2 separate regions of the Homo sapiens genome follow, and region 1 is linked to region 2. Evidence: promoter capture Hi-C in human tissues and cell types (Jung and others, 2019). All regions are on one chromosome and are shown on one strand. The core of a region is centred on a gene start or on the middle of the fragment in contact, and the rest is flanking DNA. Distances in the headings are between cores, read along the strand shown.

What was found. The method cuts DNA at HindIII sites, captures the fragments that hold promoters and counts their contacts. A contact is called where the count stands out against the background at its distance.
Region 1: a contact is called between the fragment with the promoter of KRT7 here and the fragment with the promoter of KRT84 in region 2, in 1 of the 25 tissues and cell types used here (adrenal gland).

The regions. Positions count from the first base shown.
Region 1 is chr12:52,231,799-52,235,737 of GRCh38, forward strand. It overlaps KRT7 (keratin 7), which reads left to right and starts at 1,445. Exons shown (of 9, transcript NM_005556.4): 1 at 1,445-1,822; 2 at 3,357-3,568. The coding sequence starts at 1,499. It also overlaps the pseudogene TMT1AP1. RefSeq lists an enhancer at 2,031-3,006. The HindIII fragment of the contact is 11,918 bases long and covers 1-3,939 here.
Region 2 is chr12:52,384,252-52,388,064 of GRCh38, forward strand. KRT84 (keratin 84) reads right to left here and starts at 1,401. Exons shown (of 9, transcript NM_033045.4): 1 at 789-1,401. The coding sequence starts at 1,334. The HindIII fragment of the contact is 12,479 bases long and covers 1-3,813 here.

The DNA of each region.
Region 1 (3,939 bases), core at 195-2,694, 150 kb before region 2:
AACACCAATGGCTAGGGTCAGGAGGGGAGGCAGGGAGGGAGGCTGGTGAGCCTTCACTAAGATCACTGAGAAGGAGTGACAGTCTTTAGCCTCACTGGAAGTCCTTGTGCTTTAACTGAAATGGCCAAGCAGGAAGGACATTCCGTCCCCACCCTTGTCTCCCCCAAGGGCTTAGGTCTGAGGTAACGAACCTGGCCAGCTTATTGGGAGGGGCTAGAGGTGGGCTAAGGGCAGACGGAAGCCAGGCCTGAGAACAGGGTGTGGCAAGCATGGCTGGCCCTACCGGGAAGTGAGGCCAACACTCAGGCTTTGTCCGGTATTCGGTTCCAGCACTAGGATTACCCCTCTTGACTGGGTTTGAAACTGCTGGGAATTGTTTGGTGGTGGCTTCACGGGAGAAAGATGATGAAAGCTGAGGGCCTTTAAACAGGAAAATGGTGGAGGGAGCGGGAGGAGAGTTGAGTGCTAACAGAAGCACACGCACTCAGGCAGGCATGAAAATGTGTGCCATTGTGTAGCCACAGCTGCCCCCTCGCCCAGGATGCACGCACAGACCCCCATCTGTGTAAGCAGGCTCAGACATGCGGGTGCATATGCCTGGGGGTGTGAGCACAGCAGAGCCCAGAGGCCTGCAGGCGTGTGCACACATCCACAAAGTGTCCACACATCCACAAAGTGTCACAAATACACACAAGTGTCCCCTTCCTGTACAGGGACGCATAAAATAAATGGGCAGGAATATGAGTGGAGGGTCCGGGAGGTGAGGGTCCAGGGTAAGCATTCCCAAGGTCCCTGGGATTCCGATGCCTACTGGAGTGGGGAGGGGAGGAGCCAGAGGTGCGGTCGGTCGTGTGTCTCTCTCAGCCTAGTTTCTATGGGAAATGAAGTAGGAAGGAACGCAGCCAGGGAAACTAGCTGGGCCAGGAGGGGTCAGACCCCTGAACAAGTGAGCTGATCTCTCAAGGAGGAGCTGGATCGGTGTGAGGGAGAGCGGTAAGGAATGCCTTTCTGGCTTCAGCAGCCTGGAGGATGGGGACGTCTGGGCGTTGACTCCTGGGTTGGAACTTTTCAGCCCACCCCTTCCCCCAGTCTCTTGCCACTGGGTCTCTCTGCTTGGGCCTCAGGGATCTCTAGGTTCTTCACTCCCTCTCCAAGCATCCTCCTCCGGGAAGCCTTCCCTCACTGAGTCCGTTTCCAATGGGCTGGAACTGCGGTCCCCCGCTGTTCTCTGCGGCCGTCTAGGGATGGCGCTCCTGCCTACTCCGGACCATCCCTGCTTGGACTGAAAGCCTGGGCTTCGGCGGGGCGGGCGGGCAGAGGGCGGAGGGCGGCCCCAGGAGGGGCCTGGCAGCAGAGAAAGGTGGCCCGCGGCAGCCCCGCCCCTACCTGTGGAAGCCCAGCCGCCCGCTCCCGCGGATAAAAGGCGCGGAGTGTCCCCGAGGTCAGCGAGTGCGCGCTCCTCCTCGCCCGCCGCTAGGTCCATCCCGGCCCAGCCACCATGTCCATCCACTTCAGCTCCCCGGTATTCACCTCGCGCTCAGCCGCCTTCTCGGGCCGCGGCGCCCAGGTGCGCCTGAGCTCCGCTCGCCCCGGCGGCCTTGGCAGCAGCAGCCTCTACGGCCTCGGCGCCTCACGGCCGCGCGTGGCCGTGCGCTCTGCCTATGGGGGCCCGGTGGGCGCCGGCATCCGCGAGGTCACCATTAACCAGAGCCTGCTGGCCCCGCTGCGGCTGGACGCCGACCCCTCCCTCCAGCGGGTGCGCCAGGAGGAGAGCGAGCAGATCAAGACCCTCAACAACAAGTTTGCCTCCTTCATCGACAAGGTGAGCGGGACTGGACCTCGCCTCTCCTCGAGCCGCGCTCCAGACCACACCAGCCGCCCTAACTAGCCCTGCCTGCGCGCGGGCCAGGCGCTGGGGAGCACTGCCGCCCTTCTGTCTTTCCGCCAGTGTTGGGGACACGATCTGGGGGTCCTTCCTCCTTCGCATGAACCCCGTGGCTATTTTATCCCCTCGGTTTCCAAGCCCTCCCTTCCAGCAAGCTGCCCAGCTGCCCCTCCCTTTCCTCCCGGAGTGCGGGCCTGAGTCCTGTAGGGCTGCCCTCGCTGGCTGCCTGTTGGTCACCTGGACCAGTTTTGCCTCGGACTAGGAGTTCCAGAGGCCTAGGCCAGGAGTTCTCTCTCTGGGACCCTTTCCCTGAGAGAGGACCGTGTGGAGTCAGGAATGGAGTTGGATGGCACGCCCTTCCCAGAGGGGGAGACCCAGGCTCTCTCAGATGCTGATGCGGATGCAGATGCTGGAGATTAGAGCGGCAGTCGGTGGGGCGGGGGAGGGGGGGGGGCTCCCGCCCCTCCCCTCCCCCACCTGCCTGGTCCTCCAGCCTCCCTTAGGTGGCAGGAGGAGAGGTTATACCTGCCCTTGAAGACAGCCCAGTTGGGGGCAGGGAGTGGCAGAGAGGGCCCTCAAAAAGGGGTCCATTTTGGAGATATTTTTCCTGGCTGTTGGCCTCCGCCACACATGGGGCCGCTGGAGGGGGCGAGGGCAGACTTGACTGGTGGGTTTGGGAGGAGTGCTGCCAAAGCCAGGAACTCAGGGCTGGCCCTGCTGGGCTGTTCTGGCCAGGGCCCCCTTCCTCAGCTTAGACGAAGTGTACTCCCACACCCGCCTCCCTCACGTTCTCCTTTCCTTCGCCATTCACCCAGACCGGTCTTTTAGATTTCATAGGGGCCTCCCCAAGCTGCTCCAGGCCCAGGTTCCCCCATGTGTTGAGCTGCACCGTCTTACTCTCTGTGGTCCCCAGGGCCTGGGGCCCTGAGCTGCTGGTTTTGCAGAGGCCTCTATTGCCTCCCACCTCCAGTCATACCGGCTACTCCTTAAGGGCCTTTGTGGGCTCCAGGCTGGGGTCATTTTACCATGGATTGACTGTCCTGAGGCCTTGCTGGAGAAAGGGGAAGGAGAGAAAGGATATTGAGGAAGGAAGAGAAGAGGTCCCAGACAGAAGGGAGGGCTGGGCCTGGTCATCCTCATGATCCATTGACAGGAAGAGGTGGCTGTTCAGATAGGGAGGTGGAGAACACCACCTGTAATGTGATGGGGAGTGAAGTGGAGAGGAGGCCCTGGAGCACATTCGTCGAGAGTCAACCACGGGGCACTTCCGTGCACCAGGCAGACCTGCTTCCTGGATCACTCTGTAGGACACTTGATTTGGAGTCCAAAGGGAGAGGGCTGGAAGCCCCAGGCAGGGAAACAGCCAGGGGGAGCATGGCTCTGCTAAGTGGCTAAAGATGATGTTCCTCAATCCCGCTGTGGGTGGCACGCTCTGGCTCCTCTTGAGTTTCCTCCTTCTCGCCCGTTCTAGGTGCGGTTTCTGGAGCAGCAGAACAAGCTGCTGGAGACCAAGTGGACGCTGCTGCAGGAGCAGAAGTCGGCCAAGAGCAGCCGCCTCCCAGACATCTTTGAGGCCCAGATTGCTGGCCTTCGGGGTCAGCTTGAGGCACTGCAGGTGGATGGGGGCCGCCTGGAGGCGGAGCTGCGGAGCATGCAGGATGTGGTGGAGGACTTCAAGAATAAGTAATGCCCCCTGTGCCACATGCGAAGACCCCTGCCCCGGGCCAATGTGACCCTCATGAGCTGACCCTGTGCAAGTCCCCCTGCTTCAGGAATCAGCATGCAGCTGCTCAGTCCAATAACTCCCTGAGGGGCCAGTCTTGACCAACACATTTCCTGCCTTTCCTCTCTCCTCTTTGTCCCTGGGGGCTGTTTCCAAATCATTCTGGTCTTTTCCCCTGACTCAGTCCCAGTGAAATGTCTCAGCCCAGCCCTGACCTGCACTGTCTCCTTTGGGTGTCTGACCAAGGCCCCGAGAGAGAGTAGGGCAGAAAGTGTCTTCTGACAGGGGTGCTTCAGAACTGGTATGACCTTCACAGATTATTCTAGAGCAA
Region 2 (3,813 bases), core at 151-2,650:
CCATTGGCTATGTGTAGAGCTGGAAGAGAACTTACAGACCCTTTACCCCAGCCCCTCATTTTAGAGAGGAAGAACCCAAAACTTACAGAGGTTATCCTTCATTCTCAGACATAACCATTCCATCTCCACATAGACATGGTGTGTGGGATGTCAGTTCTTTTGGGTTATCCACATCACTGTTCCCACTCATCTGCCTGGAAGCCAGTGACTACCAGTGGTCATTCCCTGCAATTTCCCTGAATCTAGGCAACTTGGCCGAATTTTGATACCCCATGTGGGGGTATGAATTCTTCTTCTTTTTTTAATTACTCAACTCCATTCTCTACTTTTCTAAGCCTGAATAGATGAGGCCACTCAGCCTCAGAAACTATGAAAACTTCATAAGGAACAAAAGGATCTCAAAGAATAAAACCTCTTAAGCATATACCAGCCAACACCTGGCTAAAGTCCCAGTGTTTCCAGCCTGTTTCAGAGACATTTCTAAGTGACCAGATGCAACATCTTAGTTTGTCGAGATGCCCTCGAGTTTGGCTGGATGCTCCTCTGTCCTCCAGAAGATATCAACACTGTCGGAATCTATCCCACCATGCAGCTCGTCCTCTGGCTTGGCCTTGCTCTGCAGCAGAGCAACCCATAAAGCATACCACAATGCCTGAGGTAGGCACTTGAAAGATCTGAGGTCAAGGTCAAGTCCCCAGAACCGGGCCAGTTCTTTTTAAGGGAAAGAGCACTCTAGCGCATTTTGGCTGTAATATTCCTAGACCCAGAGATTCAGCTATCATAGGTACCTTGTCAATGAAGGAGGCAAACTTGTTGTTGAGGGTCTTGATTTGCTCCTTCTCATCCTTCTTCACCCTCTGGGCATTGGGGTCAATCTCCAGGTTGAGGGGGGTCAGTAGGCTCTTGTTCACAGTCACAGCTGTGATAGATGGGGCTGCTGGGACTCCAACCCCTCCAACTCTGTAACCAAAGCCAGGGCCACCAAAGCCATAGCCAATGCCACTGCCAGCTCCAAAGCCCAGACCAACACAGCTGTCAGCCCTAGGCCCCAGACCAACACCTCTCCCATCACCAAAACCCATCCCACAGCCAGCACCAAAGCGGACTCCACAGTGGATGGGCCGAGAGCCTACAGCTGCTATCCGGGGTGAGTACGATCCAAAGGTGATGACACTCCGACTACCAAAGCTGCCAAGGCCCCGGAATCCAGGCCCACTCCAACAGGAGACAGAGTTGGCCCGGAAGCGATTCAGGTTCTGTGGTGTCATTGCTGAACAAGAGCTGAAGTTGCCCACCCGGTGACCAGAGCTGACTCGGTAGGAGCGGCAAGACATGATGGCTTCCTGGTTGGGAGCAAAAGAGCAAGTGTAGAATGGGTGAGCTGGAGCTGGGAGTCCCTCTGAGGCCAGTGGAACCCTTGCACCCCTTTTATGTGTGTGGTGATCTGAGGCTTGGCCCCATAAAAATGAAAAAATCCATTTGCAGGCATTTATGAGCTTGGGTAGTTAGCAGAAACTCTGCATGCCTATAACCTCCTTGACAATGAGTTAACTCAGACACACCTAGTCTCATTGGGATGAGGGCTGTAACAGCAAACCAATAAACATTAAAAACACATAAACATATAAACATTATAGTCTTTTTTTTCCCTATAAGTCTACCACAATTGCCATTAAGGGGACATTAATTTGCTTTGGTCATAAATGCAATAGGTTTTTTCACTGTGAGTGTGGCTAACCACCAGAAAGTTAGGATGGCGACAGCTCCAGCAAGAGGCTCACATGGGATGCATCCATGAAGATATAACCCCCTAAAGAGGTGGGAGTGTGTGCACATCTCCAAGTAAGAAGTGATATGGAGAAAATACAGTTTGTTGCATTTCTGCAAATCAATTAAATCATCAAAAAACCTTCTGCCATGTTTTATCCAATATGGCTGTTTAGTATACAAGAGTTGAATCTACAGTAAAGCTCATTTGGGCTAGTGTAGACACATCTGTGATTTGAGACACTCAGAGATATTCATTCATTCTACAGTTTTAGAGTGCCTGCTATGTATCCAGCAGTGTGCTTGCTGCTGAGGGTACAGAGATTACAAAGACAGTCTCTATCTTCATGGTAGTAGGGGAAGATTTATCTTAAATTTTTTTTTTTTTTTTAGAGACATGATCTAGTTGCCCAGGCTGGTCTTGAACTCCTGGGCTCAAGTGATCCTCCCGCCTCCGCCTCCCAGATAGCTGGGACTACAGGCATCCACCACCATGCCCAGCAGAACATTTATCTTGAGGATTTCCAGCAGTCAACACTTTGTGGCATGATTTGAGGCCAAAGCATTGGAAAGTTTCTGTATAGAAAGCTAACTACATGATTTTTAGCCCCCAAATATACCATAGGTGTGATTTATGGGCCTGTCCATTTAGGTTCCTTGAATTATTGATGAATCTTTGGTTAGGATAGAGAGACACAAAGCAATATACATCTGGATAGAAAAGGAAAAGTTCTCAGCAGCTGAATATTATCATTGTTAGCAATATTGCAGCTCTTTTAGGACCCTGAGCCAGGCTGGTGTTTACCTTTTCTATTCTAGTGCATCCTTTGCCCAGGGGAACTCATGTTTGACTGGACGCTTGAGATTCTTTGGGATGCTTGCAATTCCACTTGGAAGGGGATGTATGCTTTTGACCAGAAGCATCCAGCTCATTTGTGCGGTATTTTCTTTTTCCAGCTATCAGCTGTATGTCTAAGGGGGAAATGAAGCAGAAAAACAATAAGAAGTGCATACTTCTCGTCAAGACCACCAGTGGCCTCCATGTTAAATTCAATGGTCTGTCCTCAGTTCTCACTTTCTTCACATAGCTGACCATGCCCTTTCTCTTGAAACACGCTCTTCTTTTGATTTTCGGACACTACACTCTCTCGATTTCTTGCCACACTCTTTTCAGTCTTCTAAGCCAGTTCCTCCTCATATCCCCAACCTCTAGACACTGCAGAGTCCCTGGCTCAATCCTTGGGTATCTATTCTCTTCTTTAGACTCATTGCCTTGGTGATATTATACAGACTCAGGACTTTAAATACCATCTGTTCATTCATGACTGCCAAGGCACAACTCTATCCCAGACCTCCCTACCCCTAAACGCCACACATATATTTTAACCAACATCTCTATTTGGATATCAGATAGGCATCTCAAACTTAATACAGTTGTCCCTTGGTATCCCCAGGTAGTTGGTTCCAGGACCCCTTGTGGATACCAAAATCCATGGATGTTCGTCGAGCCTCCGATATACAATGGTGTAGTATTTGCATGTAACCCACACACATCCTTCTGTATACTTGAAATCATCACTGGATTATAATACCTAATACAATGTAAATGCTATGTAAATAGTTGTTATACTTTATTGACAAGAAAAAAGTCCGTACTTGTTCAGCACAGATGCAATTTTTTTAAGAGTTTCAATCTGCAGTTGGTTGAATCCACAAAGGTGGGAGCCACAGATACAGAGGGATGACTTTATGACCAAAACTGTTCTCCTAATTGTTCCTGCTAAATATGTTCCACTTGCCAACATCACTATCTCTGCAATAGTTCATGCCAGAAATCTTGGAGTCATCCTTTTGTCCTCTGTTTTTTATTTCCCTTTTCCCACATTCAATTCATTGGCAAATTCTCCCTTCAAAATATATCCAGACTCCTACTCCTTCTCACCATCCTGCTGCTCCCATGCTGGCCCAGGCCCATCTCTTCCCACAGGATCTTCTGAACTACACTCCCAGCTGGTCTCCCAGCTTCCTCCCTTGCCCCTTCAGGCT